2 separate regions of the Homo sapiens genome follow, and region 2 is linked to region 1. The links are contacts of gene promoters, found by promoter capture Hi-C in human tissues and cell types (Jung and others, 2019). All regions are on one chromosome and are shown on one strand. Each heading gives the region's core, a stretch centred on a gene start or on the middle of the fragment in contact. The rest is flanking DNA. Distances are from core to core; before and after follow the strand shown.

Evidence for each region. Contacts are between HindIII fragments. The study calls those that stand out against the background at their distance.
Region 2: a fragment that was not itself captured here is called in contact with the fragment with the promoter of SLITRK5 in region 1 in 1 of the 25 tissues and cell types used here (dorsolateral prefrontal cortex).

What each region holds. Positions count from the first base shown.
Region 1 is chr13:87,668,302-87,674,578 of GRCh38, forward strand. It overlaps SLITRK5 (SLIT and NTRK like family member 5), which reads left to right and starts at 3,070. Exons shown (of 2, transcript NM_001384609.1): 1 at 3,070-3,908. It overlaps LOC124900338 (formin-like protein 5), which reads right to left and starts at 4,066. Exons shown (of 2, transcript XM_047430855.1): 1 at 2,535-4,066. The coding sequence starts at 4,004. The coding sequence ends at 3,480. It overlaps MIR4500HG (MIR4500 host gene), which reads right to left and starts at 2,662. Exons shown (of 6, transcript NR_033829.1): 1 at 2,535-2,662. RefSeq lists enhancers at 2,797-3,298, 5,723-6,277. The HindIII fragment of the contact is 26,915 bases long and covers 1-6,277 here.
Region 2 is chr13:86,853,311-86,859,587 of GRCh38, forward strand. All of the region lies in intron 2 of LOC105370300 (a long non-coding RNA gene), which reads left to right. Among named protein-coding and RNA genes, the nearest start is that of LINC00430, 53 kb to the right of the region's middle. The HindIII fragment of the contact is 4,406 bases long and covers 214-4,619 here.

The sequences.
Region 1 (6,277 bases), core at 1,820-4,319:
AAGACAAATGCTGTACAGTTATTTAATTTAGCAATTTCATAGAGACACAATCATAAATGGTGACTCATTATTTTCCTCCAGGAGAAACTTTCATTTTCTCCTTTTAGATATGTGATATACATATAACATATATTATATATAATTATATATATGAATGTGATATATATATAATTTCAATTTCAAAAACTTTAAAGACATATGCCCTTTAACTTAGACTTGAAAAATGTGTCATTTATTAAATTGAGTTGAACAGACTTCTTAGCCATTACTATGGAGGAATAGAAACTTAGCATTAGAATTCCATAATCTTAACTCACCAGTTAGGCTAACAACAACAACAACAACAACAAATTGCAAGCTCTACTGGCTTTAGATGTTGATCAATACTTATGAAGTCATGAAATGATTAATAAAGAATTTCCTTGTTTATAATCCTCATTAGGTTGTTTCTTAAAGCACCATAATTCTTGACTAAGCATTTTAAAATTCTAATGATAACACACAGTGATACGCAAATGTGATAAGAATTATCTTAAAAAATGTACTTAATATAAGAATCCCTCCTGTGTTCATAAAGCACTAAAATAATAATTCTAGAAACTAATAAATATAAATTTACAAAAATATATGGTCAATTTTAAGTGGCAAGTATGCTACTTATGTTTTCAATTTAAATTTAAATTTGCAGGTATCAAATTATGGCCATAATTGATAATGACAATTATATTTACAATATAAATGTCAAATATATTTCCCTACATGATATACACTTATGATGATACCCTCTCAATAGATAATTCTAATATGAAAAAAAAATATTTGCAAACATTTGGACAAATGTGACTTTCACATCCAACTCCATCAAATAATGTTTAATATTAATAGACTTAATTCTGGGGAGATATATTTGATCAATCATTTAATTTTACAATGGCCAAATGTATCTATGTAATTAAGTGCATGCATCTGAGTGCTGTCTGAAAGCATGTATACACATATGACCATGTGTTGCTTAGTATAGACTAAAACATAGATACATTTGTTCATGTGGGTAAAAGTTTTGGCTCATATTTGATCACTCTTATGTAATTCACTTATATATTTTCTAAGCAATAGTCAACATTCAATGCAAATAAAGAAACAGATTAATAACTGAGGCTTTTCCTTATATCTATGATGTTTTCCCTCTTGTGTTTTTCTGTTCTGAACTGTTCAAGTCACAGTATTTTCTAAAATTTCATTCTCTTGCAGAGCATCTTATAGAGACACCTAGTGGCAAAAGGTAATGGTGGCTTCCGGGACCATCCTTAATGTTGAGTTAATGGCAGAAAGTTTTCATCATTTACTTATTTGAACCACAAGAGGTAAACTAGATTATTAGCATAAGTGTTTCTAACAAAACTGTAACCTAAACTAATTCCAAACATATTTAATACTTCTTAGTTGAATAATATTTCCTTTAATTAGAACAATAAATATTTAAAATAAAAATAATACAAAACCATGAATTAAACTTTGCTATTGAATGAAATTATAAAGATTTAGAACAGTGATAAAATATAACAGCTTTATTTCAGCTATTTTGAAAAAATCAATAATCGATTAAGACAATTTAGGACCTTTAAGAACTTCTACAAAGTTAATCGATATTGAAAATTATGTTTCTGATAGGACTCAATATTTATATTCCAAAGGCTTCTGGCTGTAATTCCTATATAATTTTAAATTTAAATATTTCATTTCATTTTGAAAATATAAAAGTAATTTTAAACTTAAAATAAATTTTCTGAAATGTTTATATAATGTTAAAAGTTAATGACTGAATAAAAAATACAGAAATAAGCCTTTTGTGGATGACGTGTAAGTTATATTTGTTGATGCAATGTATCTACAGCTAGTGGCTATCATTCCTAGGTCAAATGCTTCTAAATTTAATGAAACGTTCATTACAAGATTTTGTTTTTATTGTCTGAAATTACATATTACTTCTTTCCTTCCTCTCCCTTGAATATAACCCATACTTAAACAAAATTGCTTCCAAATAAAGTTTTTATGGTATAAAGTAAAAATATATATATTCACACAACATACGCAGGGGAAAGTTCAAAAAAGATTGCAGTACCTCAGGAGACTGCAATGTTCATCACCTGAGATATATATACATCTCAGAACATAGACATATTATCAGACTCTATATCAATATTAAACATATGATTAACCAGATTATAACACAGTATTATCCCAAATATTACTAAGAATAAAACAATATCAATAATAATTAAGACGTAATTAATTGCAAAATAAAGTGGGTAAAATATATTTACATGGAGAAACTAACTACATAGTTATCAAAGGAACAGGCACATGTGCACTCAGCCTGCACTGGGTCACTTACTATTATCAACTTTTCTCTTATACCCGGGATGAACGGCAGGTCTAATATTACAAATATTGAAAACATGTCTTATGAAAGTAAAGACCCCTTTTTGGGGATGGAAGTGTCTGGTTTCATGGAAAGACCCAAGAATACTTACTGTAGAGATGACTCTAGTGGAGTTTAGCAGATGACTCTTCAAGAAACTCGCTTTCTATCGATATTGCATTTACTTAGGGGTTTTCCAGCTTTTTAGTACACACCAGATGTATTCACAAACATTCCCTCTGAAAGTCTTTCACATTCCCTTGTGTTGCCTAGACACACCTATAAAACGTAATTCTATTAAAGAGAAAAGAAAAGTAGCGCCCTTGTTTGCAGCTAGGAGGAACCACTCCCTTTTCCAGGATCCTTAACAGTAAGTACACGAGACAGCAGCATTCTGAATGGCAGGAGGAAGGCAGGCGATCAGCACAGGGCTGGAATCATCTGTTCCTGACCACCAGCAAGCCTGGCACTGCCGGGGTTATTTCCACTCCTCCCTTTCCCAATCCGAGAATTGCACAGTCCCACGCTCGAATTACACACATGGTCCAAGACTTCTCTCTCTTCCTACGAATGTGACATCCAAGGGGGCCCCGGTTGCGCCGCCCTAGCCCAGGGACGCCTTCGCCCTCGGCTGCCATCTATCGGCCACCGAGCGCCCGCTTCGCCCCGGGCCCATCATGTCTGCTGCAGCTTGGCTCGCACCAGAGGCGCGACAATAAACAAGTGCACTGGACTGGGCCCTGCACCCGCTCCGGAGCAGCTGTCTCAGAGACCCGGTGTTGCTTACCGCGTTGCCACCTCCTCGGCGCCCGGGAGGAAGACGCAACTTTCTCGGAGTTTTTTTTAGAGCCACCGGGCTGCCAGGACAAGCCACAGGCATAGAACGACGCGGTTGCTGCCCGCCCCCCCCTTCCCCCAGAAACCCCAAAGGATGTCGGTGATAGAGAGTTCCAACTAATGACGATTGTGCGCCGCATCTGGGGAAGGGATACAGAAAAAAACCCTGCAAACACCGTGAGGATGAAACTGCCAAAGGGATGCAAGAGCCTCTCAAATACTAATTAGGGGCCGCGGCGGCGGCGGGCTCGGCGCGGAGACAGCGTCGGCGGGATCCCAGCGCGGTGGTCGCCGCTGCGCTGGGGGGCGGAGGACAGCGCAGGAGCTGCAGCCGCCGCCTTCGCTGGAGCAGCCGAGGGGCCGGTGCCACCTTTGCTCGCCCCCTCACTACCATGTACAGTGTGCGCTGCAAGAAGAAGGCGGGAGATGCATGCACACCCCCGCGACCCGCTCCCTCTGGCTCGTCCCCCGGCGTGCGCCACTGACCAGGGGGGAATGTGGTGAAGACGGCGAGGAGGAGAGCCGAGGGGGGAGGGGAGGGCCGGCCGGCGCGAACCCAGGCCGGAGGGTGCGAGGAGCCAGAGGAGGCTGGAGGGGGCGGCGGCCACAGCTGGGTCGGAGAAAGTTGCCCCCTATGCAGATGGCAACTGTGAGTACCCCTGTGGGGGGGAGGGTGCAGCGAAGGCTGCCAGGGACCCCGCGATCGCGCCTTAACACGTATTGGAGCGAGTGTGCGAGTGATCATGAGTGTGAGCGGGTGCGAGCGCTCGGCGGGGCTGACCGTCACGTTGGCGGGGCCGGCGGGGCCAGGCAGTCTTCTCCGCGTCCCCCTCCTCCCGCTCCGTGCCTCCCCTCCCAGCAGCTCCCCCTCCCCGCCCCGCCCGGCTCCGGCTCCCGGCCCCTACCGCGAGGCGCCTCTCCAGCCGGACCTCCGCCGCCCCCTCCCGCCGCCTCCCTATCCCGCCGCTGCAGAACGCCCCCCGCTCTCCACCCCCCAACCCTGCTGCCCGCTCCGACTACCGCGGAGAGCACCGGGGAGAGCCTTTTGGGGAGCCCCGGAACCCGCGGTCGCCACCGCGGCGGCGGCCCCAGGCTGGAGGCGTCCGGGCGCCTCTTTCCTCCAGCCTCTGGGACTGCGCTGCTCGCAGTCTCCTCGCCCTGCCTGGGCTTGAGAAACCTAGTGCATACCCCAAAGAGGGTTTTTGTGTATGTGTGTGTTTTTAAAGGGTGGCTATGATGACTGGGCCTTGGAGATGTGAGACTGGGTAAGTCTATCGTTTACTTTGCAAAAGAGGTGTGTGTGTGTGTGTGTGTGTGTGTGTGTGTGTGTGTGTGTGTGTGTGTGTGTCTATGTGGCGGGGTGGTTTTCCTTCCCTCTCCTCCCTCCCCTTCTTCCTCCGTTTTCCCTTCCTTCTCTTTGGGGCGGGGTGGGGGAGGGGGAGCCTCGCGTCCTGGAACTCCGGGTGCTTCTGCCTGGGCTGCTGCTTGAGCAGCTGTGCCCGGAGCCTCCGGTGCGGCCTGGGTGCTGGGCTCCAGTCCGAGAGGCTCCATGCTGCTTACTGCAGGGACGTACAGGGCGGTGATCCAGTATCTAAATTCTTTGGGAGAAAATGAATAGTTCCCCCGCCCCCGCCCTCCAGGAAAAAAAAAAATCTGAGAATCTGAGAATGTTCAGCGCACCCGCGAATTTGCATCGGAGGTGCGTTTCCCCGTCAGAATGTCAGCCTCCCCAGGCTCATTCAACTTTATTTTCTCAAATTTTTGGTCTCCTTTGCTAGCAAGGAGGAGGGGGAAGGGAGTGGGTTGAGAGGAAGCTCTTCGACCCTTGCTAACTAGAACTGAATTAAAGTTGTAAACGCTGGAGTTTAATACTGGCTGGACTGAATTTGCAATGGGCTTTCAGATGGGGTGGGAGGTGAATGGGGGCGGGGAAGCACAGGGAGGGAGGGGGAGGGGACCCAACCTCGCTGAATGGATGTGCGGATTTGATCCAGCGGAGAACTGAAATTTCAAGGTAAACGTTTTGCTTTCACTGGGGTGGGGATGTTTTTGCCGCTTTTAAGCCGGGAGACGTTTACCGTTGCGTTGGGAGGTCGGGGATACTTGCGAGGTTTATGCACTGTGGTTCCAATTCATCTCGACACGTCTGGGTGGCCACACGTGAATGATTCGCAGGCACACTGATACATGTGCGTTTGAATGCAGGGGCGTTTAATAACGCGGGCTGGAGTCGACTTGGGGATCAGGAGCAAGGTCTCCAGGCTTGAACCCGCTGTCTCGGAAACATCTTGGCTTTAGTTTGGAGTTGCAATTCGATATTAGACTTCGGTAGTGAGGCAAAGGCAAGGTTGACCAGAGAAAAGGCATAGGTTCCTAGAGTCCAGCATTTCTATCAAATGTCCTCCACCCCATTAACCAACGCAGCATGCGCGCGCGCGCACACACAAACACACACACACACACACACACACACACACACACGCTCATTCCATTTATGTCCTTCCTTTAAGAGTGCTGCTGTTGATCAGAAGTAGGAAGTGGAAGGAAGCCTTCAAGGGGACAAAAAGAGAGCAAGAAAAAAAAGGGGGAGGGGGTCATATTGATTCCTGTGGGAGATGAAATTCGGATATTAAACAACTGACCTAAGTCGCTTACAGTTCTTCCTCCCACCTTTCTATTTTGCCTCTTAATCAGCCCAGGCGTCCTTTCCCTGAGATTAAAAAAAAGAGAGAGGGGAGCGTTAACAATTAAATGTAATAAGCAACTCCAAAGATGGGGATGCTGTCGAGGTGGTAGTTCCGTGCAAACCTTGCTATTACCGTTGCAAATAGACGCGGAGCCCAAGGTAAGGGAGGCTTTCGTGCTGATCCTTGGTGTACTGATTCCCGGTAAGCGGTAGGAACGTCCTTTTTAAACTCTAGGCATCGGGAGGTATTCGGAGATTGCGGATACCTTCGCTGAGTTCTTTGTAATCCATCGTGCAGAACTATTTCAGTGGCTTAAAGATGCGGTTTGGTA
Region 2 (6,277 bases), core at 1,167-3,666, 820 kb before region 1:
GCAGAGGTTGCAGTGAGCCGAGATTGAGCCACTGCACTCCAGCCTGGGTGACAGAGTGAGAGTCTATCTCAAAAAAAAAAAATTGCACCATAAAGACACATGTGCACATATGTTCATTGTAGCACTATTCACAACGGCAAAGACATGGACTCAACCTAAATGTCCATTGATGGTAGACTGGATAAGGAATATGTGGTACATATACGTCATGAAATACTATGCAGCCATAAAAGAGAATGAGATCATGTCCTTTGCAAGAACATGGATGGAGTTGGAGGTCATTATTGTTAGTAAACTAATGGAGGAACAGAAAAAAAAATATGTATGTTCTAACTTATAAGTGGGAGCTAAATAATGAGAACCAATGGGCATGAAAAAGGAAACAGCCAACACTGAGACCTATTTGAGGGAGGGGATTGGGAGCAGGGAGAGGATCAGGAAACTTACTATTGGGTACTATGCTTAGTACCTTGGTGACAAAACGTTCTGTATAACAAACCGCCATAACATGAGTTTGCTTGTATTAATAAACCTGCACATGTACCTCTGAACCTAAAATAAAAGCTGAAAAAAAAATTGAGTCACAGATCCTAGGTTAAGAAAAACAAAAAAATAGTTATGTTAAAAATACAAAAATAAAAACAATATTGCTTTTTGTAGATATAAATACTGAAAAAACAAATATTTTAAATGCAGCATTTTTTTTTTTTTGGTTAGATGGTTACTAAGGCAAAAAGTACAAAATGCAGATAAAAAGACCTTAGCGTGAATCACAGATCTGCACTAAAACATTCATATAAAACTTAGCAATTTAATTAACTCCCGTGTACTTCAATATTATTATTTTAAATGGTAATGAGAATTCAGACTTCAAACATTTATTGTGAGAAGTTTATGAGTTAATGCAAGAGAAGAATTTCTGGTGGCTAATGAACATGCAAAAGCAAATGTTTTTCACCTTACAAATATATAATGTTGCCTTAACAGTACTTTTTATAAAAAAAATTTAATAAGTATATGTAAAAATCATAAAATTAAATTAAATTGAAGAGATTTAAAATAAGTGTATGTATGAATAATTAAGAGTAGATTATTAAAATGCAAACCAGAAAAAATAGTTGCTTTATTTTTACTCAATTTTTATGTAACTTCTTCCCATATCATTTTGTATGTAGGTGTTAAAAAAAGACTAGTACAATTGTATAATTCTCCCAACATTAATTTTCAAATATTACCTGTAACATAAATTATTTACTATAAAATATTGTATCTACAACTTCAATGTTTAAGTTTTTTATTTGTAGTTTCCCTCTTGAAAAGAAATCTGTATATATTCGGTGCAGTTTTAGAAATACATATCAAATCTTGAATTAGATAACATTTGGCTTTTTCACTATTCCAACTCTTTCTCATAGACATTATTATATTGGTTATATTATGTATACGACAATTTGAATAAAAATAACGAAGTGGGAAAAATGTTCTATTAGAAACAAATCATTAATATAAATTTATATTAAGAAGGTATGGTACTAACATTAGCATAGATTAAAAAGTATATAAAAATATACTCTCACGTCTGTGCTGTTGTATGAACGTTCGTATCTACCTCAAATTTTCAGTGTTGAAATCTAATCCCAAGGTAATAGTATTAAGATGTAAAGGCATTGGGGAGTGACTAGGTCATGGGATTAGGACTCTTATAATGGGAATAGTGCACTTATAGACACCAGAGAGCTAATTCACCCCTTCGCATTGTGAAGACACAGCTACCAAATACTGTCTATGAATCAGAAATTCCTCATCGGACATTGAATCTGGTGATGCTTTTATCTTGGCATTCCTGGCCTCCAGAACTGTATGGAATAAAGTTCTGTTGTTTAAAAGTCACTCCGTTTATGGTATTTTGTTATAGTGGCCCAAAAGGACTAAGCCATCTGGTCACGTAATATATAGAAAAGGGTGGTTTTCAAAAAGAGTAGTGTATATTATAGAAGTTTCACTAATGGTGTTTATTGAATTGGGAATCCGTATGAAAATAAATGAACTACACTTTCACTTTTACAGTAAAATAATTTCAGTAGATTAAAGATCTAAGTGTTAAAAGTGAAATAATCTTTTAAATAAATAAAACACAATTGACATGACTTAAAGGGGGACAGGGAACAGGTCTTTTTTTTTTTTTGAGACAGTCTCGCTCTGTCACCCAGGCTGGAGTGCAGTGGTGTGATCTCGGCTCACTGCAAGCTCCGCCTCCTGGGTTCATGCCATTCTCCCGCCTCAGCCTCCTGAGTAGCTGGGACTACAGGCACCCGCCACCATGCCCGGCTAAATTTTTGTATTTTTAATAGAGGCGGGGTTTCACTGTGTGTTAGCCAGGATGGTCTCGATCTCCTGACCTTGTGATCCATCCACCTCGGCCTCCCAAAGTGCTGGGATTACAGGCGTGAACCACCGTGCCTGGCCAGGGACAGGTCTTTTTTCTGTTTTTCAGCAAACACAAAATCACTATGGAGAAAAATATTTCAAATTTGACTATATTACCTTAAAAGTTAGAAAAAAAATCTTTTTCAACGAAAATATAAGTAGAATAGTAAATCTAAATCACCAGCTAGGGATAATGCATGCCATACATGTAAGCAGTTAAATTTTTGATAGATAATACATAAAAGGCTCACATCTCCCAATACAGAGAAACATAGAGAATTGTGTAAATGAATGGGCAAAAGACTTAAATAGGCAGTTCTCAAATATAAATATAAAATGAGAAACATAATGCTTAATATCATTAAAAACAGAGAAAATAGAATCTAACAATCAAGGATATGCCAAGAAATACCCATAACATTTAAGTTGACAAGACAAGAAATTCTGCAAAGCCAAAGGTTGTGGGGGCATGTAGAGTAGTGAGAACTTTTATGCATCACTAGTTGAGTTATAATTGGATTAACAACCTTGGAGTACTATTTGCATATTTGATGAGTGTGAATATGTATATATTCTGAGACGCAAGTATTCCACTCCCAGGTATCACCTATAAAAGTGGTTACACATATGTGAAAATATTCATAGTAGCATTGTATAAAACCATCAAAAATTATTAATTCATGCATTTGCCCATTATGAAAAATTACTTTGCTTTCTAAAGGTAGGATAGACCCCTGTGAGTCATTACAGTAACTTGTACTCAATATAGACCAATGTGTTCTTGAAACAGTTTATACTAATGTGTCTGACTCACTACTACAGTGAAAAAGAAATAAATCTGGGGCCGTGCGCAGTGACTCATGCCTGTAATCCCAGCACTTTGGGAGGAAAAGGCCGGTGGATCACCTGAGGTTAGGAGCTCAAGACCAGCCTGACCAACAAGGAGAAACCCCATCTCTACTAAAAATACAAAATTAGCCAGGCATGGTGGCACGTGCCTGTAATCCCAGCCACTTGGGAGGCTGAGGCAGGAGAATCGCTTGAACCCTGGAGGTGGAGGTTGTGGTAAGCTGATATCATACCATTGCACTCCAGCCTGAGCAACAAGATCGAAACTCCGTCAAAAAAAAAAAAAAAAGAGAATGAAAGAAATCTGGATAATTCAACCCATTAAACTAGTCAGGAATTACAAAGCTGAAGTTGTGTCCTAGAAGTAGTCCCTTGATATAATAGGAAAATAAATCAAAATTTATTTAAATATATATATATATATATATAAGTCATGGCTAATAGCTTATCTTGAATAAGTTATACCTTTCTAATAAATACTTTAAAAGCAGTAACGATTTTTGTGATAGGCCAAACTGTAACATGACTCCAGTGTTTCTCTTAAATGAACAGTCCTGTATTTTTTTGAGTTGGAGTCTCACTGTGTCACCAGGCTGGAATGCAGTGCTCACTCCAAACTCCGCCTCCTGGATTCAAGGGATTCTCGTCTCTCAGCCTCCTGAGTAGCTCGGATTACAGATACGCGCCATCACACCCAGTTAATTTTTGTGTTTTTAGTAGAGACAGGGTTTCACCAAGTTGGCCAGGATAGTCTCGATCTCCTGACCTTGTGATCTGTCCGTCTCAGCCTCCCAAAGTGCTGGGATTATAGGCTTGAGCCACTGTGTGCAGTCTAACTTGGTTTTAACCAATAGAATATGACAAAGGTGAAGCAATAGCACTCCTGTGACCATGTTTTGTTGGAGTATAGCCAAGGTAAAAGGATTTTGAAAATTTAATAAAGGCCCCTAATAAGTTGACTTTAAGTTAATAGAAAGTAAATTATCCTCCTTAGGCTTGACCTAATCAGGCTAGCCCTTTAAAAGACAGTCTGAAAATCAGAGATTTTTTTCTGCTGTCTTTGAAGAAGCAAAACTCTTCTCTGATATATAAGGCTTTGAGGAAATTCATTCTACCAATACTGTGTAAGCTTGGAGCTTGGAGATGACCTAGAACCTCAGATGAGTCCCCAGCCCTGACACCTTATTGCAGTGATGAATGCCCCAGTAGTAGACCCAGTTTTGCCATGCCCATACACTTCAACTATGGAAACTATGTGATAACTAATGTCCATTATTTATTTCCATTAAATTTGTGAGAGCATATAGAGCATATATAGAAAAGTGAGTTACTCAAAATTAAAATTAAAATAATGATTACATATCTTCTCAAATAATTTAACAAATATTTCTCATTTCTGGGCTGGTAAATTAAATTTTTATAACTCTATGGAATATTAGTTTTGTATCTTTCTCTTTTCTTTATGTTCCCCATCTGAGCCTGGCTGGTCAGAATCTATATTTTAAAAAAGCAGCAGTAATATGTCTAATCTACTCCTGTTCAATAACCTTGGAGAAAGCTTTGAAATTCCTTTGGCCTCAGTTGGTTTTCTGGCAATATGGTGGTCTCCAAAGGGACTATGTGAATGTTAAGTAGGTGCACAAGCTGCTCCATTGTTGGTTGAAGAGATACTGTGAGGGCATTTATTTCATTTATTTGTCATTGCAAACTATTAAAAATCCAGTTTTCAGATTGCTATTATTTAAATGATACATTTCTATGATTATGTGCACATTAATCTTAATGATGTCATTCAAAAACAAAACTACCTACCCAAACACTCAGCCTAGACACTGACAACATAAACCATGCTTTACTGTCTATATTAACATAATTCTACTATTCCATGGTCTTCATTAGCATTATTTTAATTTTCCTAAATGATCCTTCCCAAGAAGAATGGTTTGCATATTCATTATAGAAAGTTTCTGAAAGACTTATGACTCCTCAACAGAAAGTATCAACAATTTGGGGGCTAAGTTGCTATAAATTCCTCCTCTTAAAATCCTTTTCATACATTCCCAACAATCCTATGTTGGTTTTATTAGCTTTACCAAATCCAATCAAGTCCTCTCCTTGAACCACCCTCCTTTAATTGAACTTCCAAATCTGACTAGATTCAGAGTTTACCTTCTCAGAGATACTGACAGAGCTTTGAAACATGGTGTTTTCCCTTATCAATGGAGACAATAAATTCAACTTGTCTATTAACTTGTTATTTGTTTATATTAGGAGACAAATGACTTAAGGACAATATAATATTTATGAAACATTCTAACTCTAAAGTTCTGCACTGATTAAAATGATTTCATCCTTTAGATTTTTGCATTCCTAAAAATGGTATTTTCTTTTGTATTTTGAACCATTTATCTTTCTCTTGCTTGCATTGAATGAGCCATGAAGCAATGTTAGTATGGTAGATTTTGAAATATTTTAAAATGTCTTAAAGTCCTATTCTTGTACATTTAAATAAACAATTTTAGAAAAAAATGAACAGCAATATTTTCGAAAGTTCTAATAATTATTTTGTTACTTAATAACATTTACATTTTCAATTCAAATTTACAAAATTATTTGGAGAATGTATCCTAGGGATACCACACATTAAGGACCTGATCTCCCACAATAAACTCTGGACTTGGCTTTTATTTGTCTTTATCATTTCAGTAGTGCATGACACATGACTTTATATGAGATATTCTTAATATGACCATTTTGAATTACAGTTTTAAAAGAATGATGATTATATGGCAATTGCCCTGTTTTAATTCTTTATATACAGATATTTAAAAAATATTTATATATATATAGCTTGTAGCAAAATCAGAGATAAGAAATAAAAACACGAGCAAGTGTATCATAATTGTTTTTTGGTCCATAACATCTGCAGGAAATAACTGAACGTTTCAGGGACATGTATGGGTACTTGGTTTTAGATAGGAGGTCTCAGGTCCCCGTGTAG